Regions from separate parts of the Homo sapiens genome. Here region 2 is linked to region 1. The links are contacts of gene promoters, found by promoter capture Hi-C in blood cells and fetal thymus (Javierre and others, 2016). All regions are on one chromosome and are shown on one strand. Each heading gives the region's core, a stretch centred on a gene start or on the middle of the fragment in contact. The rest is flanking DNA. Distances are from core to core; before and after follow the strand shown.

Region 1 (7,075 bases), core at 504-3,003:
GCCAAGGCAATCAGGCAGGAAAAGGAAATAAAGGGTATTCAGTTAGGAAAAGAGGAAGTCAAATGTTCCCTGTTTGCAGATGACGTGATTGTATATCTAGAAAACCCCATCATCTCAGCCCAAATTTTCTAGCCCTCTTATTCAGAAAGTTGAGCATACACACCAGCTCTCTGTCATCAAGTGAAGGTGGGGAACATAAGGTTGGGCTTAAGGGAGTTGTGAAAGCACAAACAACTTACAGAAGCAATTGGCTTGGATTCTCATGGTTTCCTCTCTGCTGAGTTGTCTCTTCTTTCTCAACATACACCTATGAATTTATGCTGATTTTCCAGTTGGAGAAGGAAAAATTAGTCCTGGATTATAGATGGTTCTGCCAATATGGTAGCACTGCCTAAAAGTGGATGACTGAAGTACAACAGATCAAATCGGGGATTACCCTAAAGGTCAGTGGTGAAGGAAAATTTTCAATTATTTTTAATCATCTTAAGAAATGATAGTATCTAGATTCAGCCTGCCTTTGAGAACTTAAGTCTACATATAAGTACATGATACAGACAGAGTCAATATCCCTACAGAAAAATTAATAGTCATGCCTTCTGTTATATTTGGGTCTCAAAAATGTCTACTTTACGTTCCTGTGACTTTGGAATCAGATAAGATTCTCAATGCTTTTCTTTTCTCCGAAGAAACATATCTACATTGCAGTGCAGGTACAAGATAATCAACCAAACAACTTTTTAAAGAATGCTTAAGGTGTGGAGAAGAAGGAACTAAACAGGCAAGAAAAGGGCACTACTTTTAAGAGAGCATAGCAATAGGAAAACTACAGAATAATATGTGATTGGTGGGAGTTTGTACAGAATAAATCACAGTTGATCCTTGAACAATGCAGGGATTAGGAGTGCCAACCTCCACGCAGTTGAAAATCTGAGTATAACTTTTGACTCCCCAAAAACTTAACTACTAATAGCCTACTGTTGACCAGAAGCCTTACCAATAACATAAACAGTTGATTAATACATGCTTATGTTACCTGTAATGAGAGATTATACTCCTATAATAAAGTAGGCTAAAGAAAAGAAAATTTTATTAAGAAAATAAAGAAAAAGAGAAAATGGATTTACTATTCACTAAGTGGAAGTGGATCATCATAAAGGTCTTCAGCCTTATTGTCTTCATGTTGAGTAGGTTGAGGAGGAGAAGGAGGAGGAGGGGTTGGTCTTGCTGCCGGAGTGGCAGAGGTGAAGAAAATCTGCTTAATATAAGCGTATCTGTGCAGTTCAAACTCATGGTATTCAAGAGTCCACTGTATTTGCTACTAAGTTTTATAGCGATAACATCACAGCTGTGTTGATTAAGATTTAAATATGCATATAAGAAGAAGGGTATTATTAGCAAAGTGATCGGAAGAGGATGGCATTTGCCTCCTCCACGTGATGTCATCCAACATAGCTACAAAGGTTAAATTCGGCATCAGTGTGAGTAAGGTCATGGAACTCAGTATTTTTTTTTCCTTTAAAGTCTATCAGCTGTTTGGCAGGATCATAACATACTGAGAAGAAAATCTCAATTTTATCAGGATAGGGAGTCTTTTTTTAAAATCTAAAGATACAAGATTAATGAGATTTTTAAATACAGGTTGGTCTATATGACAATGTCAGGAGTGCCTGTGGTTTGTCACACCTCCACTGAGACTGATAAAAGACCCAGTATTTTAGTGTTTTTATGCACTAAAACTTATGCTGGCCTCTCAGGCTAGAGACTTAAATCCTGACACAATGAGCTACTATGGCAACTACTACGGAGGACTGGGCTATGGCTATGACTGTAAATATAGTTATACCTCTGGCTTTGGTGCCTTTAGAATCCTGGACTGTGGCTACAGATGTGGCTGTGGTGGGGTATGGATTTGACTGCTGCCACCAATATGATTATGCTACATGCTTATTATCAGGCACTGACTGAATAATATCTACAATTGGGTCCATTTTCTTATGAGACAGGGGTGCTGTTCTACTACACTTTTTTTAATTTGTTTAACCCAATTAGAATTCTTAATGATTCCCTATAATCCCAGCACTTTAGGAGGCCGAGGCGGGTGGATCACCTGGGGTTAGGAGTTCGAGACCAGCCTGGCCAACATGGCAAAATCCCATCTCTACTAAAAGTTAAAAAAATAGCCAGGTGTGGTGGTGGGTGCCTGTAGCCCCAGCTACTGGGGAGGCTGAGGCAGGAGGATCACTTGAACCCAAAGGCAGAGGTTGCAGTCAGCCGAGATGGCACCACTGCACTCCAGCCTGAGCAACAAAATGAGATTCCATCTCAAAAAAACAAAAATAATGCTTAGTTATTCAATCTAATTCTAGGCAAAGAACACACATCATTAAATTCACACTAAATCCACATCAGTGCCCCAGATTAACTACATTTTTCTCTTCCAAACTGATGTGTTTTCATAATTTACCAAGCAAATTACTTTTTGATATGTTTCAGGAGTAGGGAGCTCTAGGTTTATTTTTAATTAAACTTACTTTGGCCAGGCCAATGTCATTCATTTTTTAAATTTATTAATTACTCACTTGTTTAATAAGTCCTCATTAAGTAATTTCTATATAGGGCTTCCTGTTAAGTCTTAGTGTTACTTATGGGAGAAGAGTTTTTAAGCAGAAAAACAAATGTTTAAATAAACATGTATGCTACAACATGATAGGTGATGTAATAGCCACGTAGGAACACAGAGGAGAAGCTCATGTTTGGATGCAAAAGAGCGAGATTGTAGAGCAAACAGATCAAAAATATTCTCATTGAAGGTTACATTTGAATAAATTTTTAACCAACGAAAAATACATTGGAGGTAAAGTGTATGCCAGGCAGGGGAAACAAATATGCAAAGCCATGAAAAAAGTATTGCACTGCAAAGTCATAAATTGATGTTATTTCTTGAGAGAACAGTGGGCAAAGTCACTGGCAGGAAATGAAGCCCTGGGCAGTGAAGAGAAACTAGAACATCAAGGCCATATATATTTTGCAATGGGTGTACTGGATAATGTTTTATAAAGTTGTAATATTTTCCTTTACCTGGATGAGATTGGAAACTATTATTCTAAGTGAAGTAACTCAGGAATGGAAAACCAAACATCGTATGTTCTCACTGATATGTGGGAGCTAAACTATGAGGATGCAAAAGTATAAGAATGATACAATGGACTTTGGGAATGTGGGGGGAAGGGTGAGAAGGAGGTGAGGGATAAAAGACTACAAATATGGTGCAGTGTATACTGCTTGGGTGACAGGTGCACCAAAATCTCACAAATCACCACTAAAGAACCTACTCATGTAATCAAATACCAACTGTACCCCAATAACTCATGGAAAAATAAAATAAAAATAAGAAGCGCATGTTTTATACAAATAATTATGGCATCCAATTGAAGGAAAGGTGGCCAAGGAGTATGACCACAGACCAAACGACCATTCTGGAGGCTGTGTAAGCAGCCAATGCAAGGTCTTAATGTAAAAGCGGCAACTAAGATTCCTATGAAGGCCTAGATCAAATAGATTATTATGGGATAGAAGTTAAAGAACATGCCCATGTGGTATGAGAATGGAGGGGGCTAAGGAATAAAACAGAGCACAAAATAAACAAGGACTTGAACAGTCAACGACTGACTGTGGAACTAATGGCACATGTGATACGGGAATCGGAACATTTGGGGGACAATCAAAGTGGAGCCGCAAAAGTTTACTTGAGTACACGTAAATGTCATCTGTGGGAGGGCCAAATAAAGATTTTTCCTGGCAGGTTGTTACAAAAATCTACAACTCAGGAGAAAACTGAGTTTTAAATATAGAAAATAATTGGATAAAGTTCGTCGTAACTTCAGAAATACAGTGTATTAGTCCGTTCTCACTCTGATCTGAAGAAATATCCAAGACTGGGTAATTTATAAAGGAAACAGGTTTAATTAACTGACAGTTCTACATACCTGGGGAGGCCTCAGGAAACTTACAATCATGGCAGAAGCGGAAGAAGTCACGTCCTTCTTCACAAGGCAGCAAGAAGGAGAAGAATGAGCACAAGGGGGAAAATCCCCTTATAAAACCATCAGAAGTCGTGAGAAAGTACTCGCTCTCAGGAGAACAGCAGCATGAGGGTAACCACCCCATGATTCAATTACCTCTCTCTGGGTCCCTCCCATGCCACCTGAGGATTATGGGAACTGCAATTCAAGATGAGATTTGGGGAGGGGGAACAAGGCCAAACCATATCATAGAGTATTCCAATAATTATAGGTGAATTAAAAAAAAAGGTGTTTGCAAATCAGGGAAGGAGCAGATAAAAGTTAAAAAGGAAATGAAAAGGGAGTCATGGCAGGAAAATCAAGGGCCCACCAACTTTCTGGGAAGAGAAACTTCTTAATCTTCCTCTCTTCAAACATGGATTTTTTCAGAAAGGATTTCTAGAGTAATAACGTAAATTCTGACGCTGAGCTAGATGCTGACAATTACACGGTCAGTAGTATTGGCATGTTCCCTGCCTTCACAAAGGTTAACATCAAGAGGGGTTGACAAAATATCATAAATGCAATCACAGTAAAGCAACAGAGGCCTTAGTGCTTAGGTATGGGAGAGTCTCTCCAGTCCTCCATGTGTTGGTATGGACCCTAAACTCCATCCACATGATTGCCATGGGAGCAGCAATTTTGAGTATGATCTTCATGCCCTGACAGGAGTTGATGGGTCCAGATATGGCCATTTGAACAAAATGAAGCAGAAAATTCCCAGAATTTGCAAACAAAAGCCAATATGTTTTCTACCTGATGAAGCTTTAAGGTCTAACCCTTGTGATCTATTAGAATAGTAGCTATGTGCTTCTCCTTGTAGAATGCCCATTTGAAGTTTATTATAAGGTACCTGCTTATGTTTTCTGCTGAAGAATTCTATGTATGTGCTACTCAGAGTTGGATCACAGAAAATCTTTTTTAACTTTTGTACACTGGCCATGTCAGAGATATTCCATCAAGTCTAAGATGTAAGATGTTCAGCATCCTAAAATAAACAGATGAGTGAGCTTGAAAACCATCACTGCTCTCCAGACCTACACAATGATCACAAATGCTGTGCTCTGTTCATTCATTATACACTTGTTTACTGCAGAGTTACCAACTCTCAAGCTGGTTTGCTTTGTATGGGAGTGGATAGAACATCGTTATAATTGAGTTATTATGCAGTATCCAGAAACCATACTTAGTAAATTGTGGCAGGAAGCTTAAAATTTTCTGATAGTTTAGAAATATAGCACCATGAGATATCAGAGGGGTCATTTTCTCTAAAGTTGTGATAGTGATAACAGGTTAAGAAAAGACTGTGAAGAAATTCTCTAATACATGACAGTCTGGAGCAAAATTTCTGGTTTGGTAGCAAAAGGCAATTGCAAAAATTACACCTTAACAAGGTTGAAAGGAAAAATATTGACGGGGAAAACCCAGAACGCTGAGTTCTTCCAGTCTCTTTTAAGAGCCTTAAAACCCTTAACACCTGTGGGATTGAATCATGTTTGGCTCCTAAACAGAGAGATTTTACTCCAATTCCCTGTACGGACCAAAGTGGTCAGTAGATCTATAGCTCTAAAAGGAACAACAGCTCAAAACTTAAAACATTAAATAAAACATTTACTTATATCTATATGTCTGTATCTGTTTATGAAATATATACATTTATATATATATATCGAGAGAGAAATATGGTAGATAATTAAGTATCCAGTCATCTGGATGGGATGGGGTAGGAAGATGATGTGTAGTGTTGGATTGGTAGGTGGAGATGAGAGAGGGTAAATTGGTAAGCAAAAGGTAAGCAATTTAAGAAGACAGAAACTTAACTGAAAAAAATTCCAGAACAATGAATATATCGTGTATATGTTTACATTTATTATGTCATATATAGTACACATAGAGACTGCATCTAATTACTTACAGCATATCCAAAATACATACCAAGATAAAAAGGGCAAGGGCCTCATATGTGTAATGCAATTCTTTTTTGTCTGAAACAACAAACTCCAAACCCCCATATGTGTGTATGCATGGGTGGAGATAAAATTGCATATGTATGTATGAGGAAGTAGAAAGTAATGGAAGGTCATTTGAAGGGAATGCCTGTGGGCAGCAGCATGAGACATAACTAACACCATCTTTATGCATATTTGTATTGCTTTACTTATTATTACAGATGTGCATTATTTTCTGAATAAAGAAAACATCAAATGAATGAAAAATTTGAAAATAAAGGGATGCTTTAAATTTGAAAACTAAAGGGATGCTTTAGATAATGGAAAACTTAATCATGAACCTATGGAATTGGGGAAAGCTCTAGGGAACATAACTTTATTAACTTTTGCTTGATCTACAATGTATTTGTCAATTTTTACTGTAAAAATTGTTAGTATTTGCTTAGAAACAGTTGACACTTTTTAATATTTATTTACATTTGGTGTACCTTTTTGACATATCCTGAAGAGAAGGGCTACTTGCTCATAGCACTCCAAACAACAGCAGATGATAGTCATAAAATCCAAACAAATGAGGTAATGTAAAATGTAATGACAATGTAAGCATAAGTTTTCCACAAGCATACCAGATCTTATTCTCAAGAGAGATTTCCTGCCTTTGTTAGCACCTACTTCCACCATGCCACATTGGTATATAATTAGGACCAAGATTATTTCAGGAAACATAACACAATAATTTGCATTTATATACAGCTACCCAGAAACAAAGTGTAATGCTGTTTAAAACCCTCAAGAGTTGAGCAATGTTATTAGTCAGGCAGAATGGCAGTTTTATTTACTTGCTAAGCCAATTCCATATTATGAAGAACTAATGACTAGAGTTGATACATACTTTATTAGTTTGTTTCTGAAAACTCTGCTAGAGCCAAAAGAAGAAATATAGGAAGAGCTCTGAGCATCAAATAGGAGAAATAAACCTCCAGAGATCATCAGCTGACTTAATTCAGTGAAGACTCCCTTAACAGTTGCAGAAAACTGCACATGCATTTAATTGCATGCTAGGTG
Region 2 (7,597 bases), core at 1,537-4,036, 220 kb before region 1:
CTGCTAATACTTTGATTTAGCCCAGTGAGGTCATCAATTCATCAGATTTTGACCTACAGAATTAAAAGATAATAAATTTGTATTGCTTAAAACTCTAAGTTTAATCTAATTTGCTATGGCAGTAATAGGAAACCAAGATTAAAGTGTATTCCTGAAAGCCAGAAAACCATTCCTGCATCTGCAATTTGGAGACAGTAACAGAGGAAACCTCAGCCTGGCCAATAAGCTATAGGTGCTCCTCATTAAACCCTTACCATTGCCTATGTTTTGGGGATATAAGGCTTGATCATTACTCTTGAGTAAATATTATGAGCATGGGACTAACTAGAATCACTAAAATTCAAAAAATCCATGAAGTTATAAAAAGGACCAAGTTTATAGAGGATTTCACAGTTTGTCATTTTAATTTTTGTAACTCAATCACTGATAATTTTTCCTATGCATTTTCTTTCATTATTCCTTATTTCTTTCCTCTAACTATATAAGCACCATGACTATTTCCTAAACATGATGGAGGAGAAGGAGGAGGGAGAAGAAGAAGAAGAGGAAAATAGGGAGCAAATGACGGAAGTGAGGAGATAAGAGAAAATGTCACAGCTGGATAGATCCAATAAAATAAATTGGGTGGAATAAAGTAGTTCTACTCACAGCTCTACAATAGCTTGCTGAGTAACATTTTAAAATTCTATCTAACGCTACTGTTTCCATTTCCACCTCTGTAGAATAAGAATATTGAAGTCGATGAACTCTACAGCTCTCTTTATATTTCATATTTTATCACATTCGCAGTAAAAGAGGAAGAGAACATGATGAGATGACTGTTATGTACTTATAAGACTAAGTTTTTTGTGAAGTGTCTAATAATCTGCATTATATTTCTAATTTCAGAGAATGTTAGAAGATCTTATAAAATAAAGAATAGGAAAATACTTGAACATTGCTTGTTTTATATAAATATTATGTCTGCCATTACCATCGTATTGTCTTAGTACCTTACTTTTTATAACACTTGGATGTAAGAGAGCAGAACAGCATAAGTACAGTCTATCCAATTTTATTTCAAGATACGACAAAAAACAATCATTTTTGATGATAGTAAAGGCTTCAGAGTTTTCAATTAGATTCAGTTTATATTTTGGCAAAGAACCCAGGTACAACTAACACCTGCTGAGCCTACTTCCTTCCCATCAAAGTTTGTTGCCTGCCTTTTTAAACAAATGGAGATCATTTGAGCAGATTGAAAACAGTAATTGGGGTTCAGGGATTTAGCTAATTAAAAATAAGTGATACTCCTGCACTATGATACCTGAAGCTCATAGGTGCTCTTTTCTAAACATTTACATCCATGTGTTAGTCTTCCATTTTAATATACTTCATGAACAGGCCTAATCATATAAGTATGAATTTTGTTCATGTACTCTTCAAACTTTTCTGTTACATTCTGTCCTTAGAGATGCATGGCATATTCAAGGAATGAACAAGGATAGTCAATGCTCTTAATACTATCAGTAACTTACTTTTTATAACGCTTTGATGTGAGAGAACAGAACAGTATAAATACAGCCTATCCAATTTTATTTCAAGATACAACCCAAACAATCATTTTTGATGATTCTGATGAAAGGTTATCATCAAAAATGATAGCAAAGGCTATCTTAACTATCCTGACGAGGATACTTAAGAGAAAGGCTATCCTTGGAAACTGTGAGAATCCCAGAAACTCCTGCTTAAAGAGGAGGAAAATATCTAAAGCCCAACCAAAATTAGTGTGGAGATCCCACAATCTGGGCATTGCAAAGCCCATTACCAGAAGCAATGACAATGCACATCCTAGACAATGCTTTACTAATAAATAGCAATATTAACAGCACATTTGGACAGAAGAATAAAGAGTTTATTAAAATAAAATCTTTTTCACTTCCTATCTCTTTTGGAAAGAAATACAAAAACTATAAATTATATCTATAATGCAGTTTGGATCACTCATTGATCCAATGGCTTCAGATATCTGAATTATAAAATCCATGCCTTCCCTTCCCAGAGTTATAGATCCAGATTGATCCAGTTATAGATTATTCATTGATCCAAACTGCAGTTTGACAGAACTAACATACAACCCAGTTTTTGAGGGCTGGAAAGTAAGGAAGACCTGGTGATCAATAATATTAGAATACTTCTCAAAGGAAGAAATTAACAGATGACCTTACTAAAGAATATGCATTTCTCAAATGAGTTTTACCAGTCACCACATTAGTCAGTAGAAACCAGATCTACAGAATGGCTGATAACAAGATGAATGGAACCACCTTCTAGGTGGAAAATAGATTGGATGGCAGAATCTGGATCTATAACTCTGGGAAGGGGAGGTATGGATTCTATAATTCAGATATCTGAAGCCATTGGATCCACAGCCCAGTGAGGAGCAGCTCCTGGATCCACAGCTCAGGGAGCAGCAGCTATTGGATCCAAAACCCCGAGACCCAACATGCATAGTCAGGCAAGAATTGCAGAGCATGTGAGTCCTGGGGTAGTAGCAGGAGGTGTGGCAGGGGCTGGACTCAACACACAATGTCTGACAGCTGTTGGGCCTCCAGCAGGTCTCCTGACAGCCCCTATAGAGAGAGGAACCCAGCTGGCAGGTGCTGGGAGAGCAGAGGTCAGTGCTGTAGACCAGGTTGCTGGGGTAGGAAGAGCCACAGGAGGAGCCTGGGTAGTGCAAGTAACCCCCGTGGGAGCAGGAGGAGAAGTTTCTAGAGCAACAGTTGTAGGACATGTTGACGGGAAGATGTGAGTTCAGCTGAGTGTACCTGGGAAGATTCTGAGTTTTAACGTGGCATCCTGGACAGTGTCATTTATATCCTCTCAGCAATAGGTGTGGTGCACAGCAGAGTCATCCCTCACATTTTTGTGCTCCCTCATTTACATATGTGTAGCTCAGCAATCTTGCCTGTAATTGCATTTGAATACTTTTCCACATGTTGTATTTATGCGTGCTATAATTTTGGTGTTATAGCACAAAGCCAATGAACTGCACTTATGCCAGAAATGCTATGACTGTTTCGTATTAATATTTATTTTATTATGTCTAGGAAAGCACCTCCTTTTCCTCCTAGCATAATTTTCATGTGTCTTGTTATTGGCTGTTATGGGCAATAATTTTCCCTAAACAGTGAGAAATGAGATAAAGTTACATGTCTTTTTTGTCAATGGATTAGAGACACAACTTTGGCCTTAATGAGAAACCTGCTGAAAACTAAACCTACATGTCACCATCCTTTCTCATTCCACAAAAGTTTCCTTCATCTATTATGTACTGTTACTCACTGTGTCTCACATCCAGTGTAGAGGGAAAAGTATGAGCCAAGACAAATTGAATAACATTGATGCCTATGACCAGAAGGAAACCTGGACAATTATTTGGAGACATGGTGACAGCAAGGGATGGAACTGAGACAATCACAAATGAAAAACAATTCTGGGGCCTTATGAAGAGAATTAAAGTGTTAAATAAACACACACCATTGAAATGACAGAAAAAAATAAATGAATTTTAGATTCAATGCATCTAATATGAGGCCCATGGTCCTAAGAGATTCTCATTCATATGTGTGGCAGCCTGGAGAATTCTCATCTCGGATCTTAAATTACAGGAGGCTTAAATAACCAGTGGTCCTACCTGCTGTGTTCTAAAAGTTAACACTGCATTTTTGGGGAAGGCTTGCTTTCTCTGGGCTGCTCCCAAGCAAAGACTGAGCACAGTGGGATATAGGAATTCCTGGAAGACAATTGACGGCCAGCTTTGACTCAGGGTTTCCTCAACGGCCTTAAAGAACTACTGTCTCCTGCATAGGTCTCAAGCACTTCTTTCTCTTTCTCCTTCACTTGGGCCAGACCTATGTCCAAATCTTACAACTCTCCCAGCCTCTCTCAGGGGAGACTCTGGAAAGAGAAAAAATGCAGAAAATCTGTAAATATTTAATCTTGTTTATACTTTTTAAAAAGTGATACTGTTTGGATTTGTGTCCCTGCCCAAATCTCAGGCCAAATTGTAATCCCCAGTGTTGGGGAAGGCCTGGTGGGAGATGATTGGATCATGGGGGTGGATTTCCCCCTTGCTGTTCTCGTGCTAGTGAGTTAGCTCTCATGAGATCTGGTTGTTTAAAAATGTGTAGCACTTCCCCCTTCACTCTTTCTACTGCTTCCCTTGTAGGACTGCCTGCTTCTCCTTCATTTTCTGCCATGATTGTAAGTTCCCTGAAGCCTCCCCAGCCGTGCTTCGTGTACAGCCTGCAGAACTGTGAGTCAATTAAACCTCTTCTCTTTATAAATTACCCAGTCACAGGTAGTAGTTTATAGCAGTGTGAGAATAGACTAATACAAAAAGTAAACCAATTTTTTGAAGGATAGCAAAAAATTTAAACTGAACATTTTATCTTGAGTATGCCAATCAGGGTAAACAAAAAAAAAATTATTTCAGTTGTTCAATGATTTAGAGAAACAATAAACAAACTTTTGAGTTTAGTTTTGGAGCTTATGTTCAGACTGTCTCCAGGTAATATCTGCTAAAACTCATTTTTTCAGCCATCTCCACCTTAGTTAGACTAGATCTACACCATTCTCCTATTATTTCACGTGTGAGTTGATGTCTTTTATCAAGATTGGTAAATTCCCAACTGTACTCTCTTCAAATATTGCTTCTGCCCCATCCTCTCATCTTTCTTTTGCTTAGATTCCAATTATAAGCAAGGTACACTTTTTAACTACATTACATATGGCTTATACTCTTTTTTCTATTTTCAATCTTTATATAGAAGTATTGGCTTTTGCTTATTGAGGTTGTAACCTGGATGGTTAGTGAAAGCAAGATTTTCCAGCATGTTAGTGACAAGTTGCCTGGTTATTTTGAAAAGAGAAGCAGGTAGGTGCCAAACGTTGTAATTTTCAACTATGGATGAGATTCTGTTGAAAACATATCTCAAATATCCAAAGCCATTATTCATAGCCCAGTGAAGAGAATCATCTGTCAAAAGATCAGAAGCCTTTTGATGTATATCCCTGAGCCATATATTTTATGTGAAAGATCTCAATTTTTAATTGTTGATAAATAATTCAGTCAAAAAAAGAAACAACAATGATGAGGCTCCATATTAAACAGAACAAATAATATGATCTCCAAGATGAAGTGAGTCCAAAGTTGTGGCATTTACAAGTTCTTCTTAAACTTCTATCAAATTAATGTGGACAAAGTTTTAGAGATTTAGAGGCAGAGAGAAGGGAAGAACACCTCTTTTCACAATAACTGGTTCAGAGAAGGATTTTTGAATAAGGAGCCTGGATTAACTGAAGACAAATTCACTAAATCCCTTAGTTTTGCCTGAATAAATTCATGCTCTCCATTTAACTCATAAGTTTTGTATTCAAGATTATTTTAAAGAGTTACATTTGAAACAAAAGAAAATGGGGAAGGAATAGTTTCCAAACCTACTTACTAAGGTACAAGGTTAGGGGAAATCAACTGCCATTGAAAAATAGAAAGTAACTCACTGAATAGATATTTGAATTGGCCATATTTGCTTCTTTCTTCATTCTTCCTTCTGGAAGGCCTATATTAAGTTACTTTTCAATATTGCCATACATTTTAATTGAGAAAATTTAATCGAGAAAATGTCTAACATTATTGTTGTAAGTTTATTATATTTTATTATAAAATAAAATGTCATCAACCATGACAGTACACTTTCTTTGGTCCTGAATATAATTTAACTACTTGTATTTCAACATAGAATATTTTGTGAATGAACTTACAAAGTGGCTATCCTCAAAGAATACGACAAAGCTGTCCAATTTTTATTTTTCAACATGGAATCTATAATTCAGCAGAGGCAAACAAACACATGAACAAAACATAAAATATAACAAGTAAAAAAAAGAAAAAAGATAAAATCAAACTTAAGCACAGAAAAAAGAAAGAAAAATAGAGGGAAAGAAAGTCAGAGGAAGAGAGAGAGAAAATAAGAGAGAAACATTCATATACCATGCAGAGGAAAAGAGGACTGGGGAACAAAGAAACTTCACATTTTCACAGGAAAATGTAGGATGGTACCTGGTTCTACAAGTGGCAAAAAGACACTGAAAGCCAGTAATATGGAAAGCTAGAGCCATTCTAAGAAGGTAGAAGTCCTGTATAATTACAAAAGTAGATGATAAATATATCAAAGTTCATAAGATTTGCTAATTTTGAAAATTTTTGCTCATAAAGACATTGAGACAAGACACATGACAGCTGGAATGCAATAGGAAAAAAAATTCTGAAATTCCTGAGCTTTCTCTTTGTTTCTCTTTCACTTGTTTCCTCCCTTCAGCAGACAAGCATTCGGGCTCTTTGGCTGAAGAGACATGACCTCAAATTGATCTTCTCTGTGACTGTGTTTCAATCGAGCTTCTTTTTGTTATCTCGTCTTTAAATAAATGGCAAGGTTTCTTTCAATTTCTAGCCATTTCTTTCTATCTCTTTGCTTTGCCTGTTCTTGATCTTTCTTCACTGGATATGAGACAGACTTTATAACTGTAGTACTTAATGTATTAATTTACTCTTACCGCCCTAAAAAATCACCACAAAGTAATTTTGGAGTATAGCAATCAATGGTGACAAGATGGATCATTTTCACAAAGGTTCTCATCCAGGTGGAAATTGCACCAGAAAGAAACTAACGTTATCTCATTCCCCACTCTTAAGAGGAAAACATCTACTAGCAAAGCCAGATGTGAATACACAGGAAAAGAGGCAGTTAGCATGTGCCAAAGAAATAGGAAGAGCTTTCCTTGTCATGATGAGCTAGACATTAATATAAAACAGTCATAGCATTTCTGACATAAGTACAGTTCATTGGCTTTGTGCTATAACACGAAAATTATAGCACCCATAAATACAATACATGGAAAACTATTCAAATGCAATTACAGACAAGATTACGCAGTTACACATATGTAAATGAGGGATCACAAATATGTAAAGGATGACCCTGTTGGGCACCACACCTATTGCTGAGAGGATATAAATGCCCTTGTCCAGGATGCGACATTAAAACTCAGAATCTTCTTAGGTACACTCAGCTGAACTCCCATCTCTCATCAGCATGTCCTACAACTGCTGCTCTAGAAACTTCTCCTCCCGCTCCTTTGGGGGCTACCTGTACTACCCAGGCTCCTACCCCAGCAGCCTGGTCTACAGCACTGCCCTCTGCTCTCCCAGCACCTGCCAGCTGCGTTCCTCTCTCTACAGGGACTGTCAGAAGACCTGCTGGGAGCCCGCCAGCTGCCAGAAATCCTGCTACCGCCCCAGGACCTCCATCCTCTGCTGTCCCTGTCAGACGACTTGCTCTGGATCTCTAGGCTTTCGGTCCAGCAGCTGTCGCTCCCAGGGCTATGGATCTAGGTGCTGCTACTCGCTGGGAAATGGATCCAGTGGCTTCAGATTCCTGAAATATGGAGGCTGTGGTTTTCCTTCCCTGAGTTACGGATCCAGATTCTGCTACCCAAACTACTTGGCTTCTGGAGCCTGGCAGTCTTCTTGTTACAGACCAATCTGTGGATCTCG

Evidence for each region. Contacts are between HindIII fragments. The CHiCAGO score rates a contact against its expected background, and 5 or more counts as called.
Region 2: a contact is called between the fragment with the promoter of KRTAP13-3 here and the fragment with the promoter of KRTAP20-3 in region 1, in 2 of 17 cell types (neutrophils and monocytes). The highest score is 9.7, in neutrophils.

The regions. Positions count from the first base shown.
Region 1 is chr21:30,641,111-30,648,185 of GRCh38, forward strand. KRTAP20-3 (keratin associated protein 20-3) reads left to right here and starts at 1,754. Exons shown (of 1, transcript NM_001128077.1): 1 at 1,754-2,026. The coding sequence starts at 1,779. The coding sequence ends at 1,913. The HindIII fragment of the contact is 10,269 bases long and covers 1-4,824 here.
Region 2 is chr21:30,423,140-30,430,736 of GRCh38, forward strand. KRTAP13-3 (keratin associated protein 13-3) reads right to left here and starts at 2,787. Exons shown (of 1, transcript NM_181622.2): 1 at 2,241-2,787. The coding sequence starts at 2,773. The coding sequence ends at 2,255. All of the region lies in intron 3 of LOC105372772 (a long non-coding RNA gene), which reads right to left. KRTAP13-4 (keratin associated protein 13-4) reads left to right here and starts at 7,081. Exons shown (of 1, transcript NM_181600.3): 1 at 7,081-7,597. The coding sequence starts at 7,137. The HindIII fragment of the contact is 9,043 bases long and covers 1-7,597 here.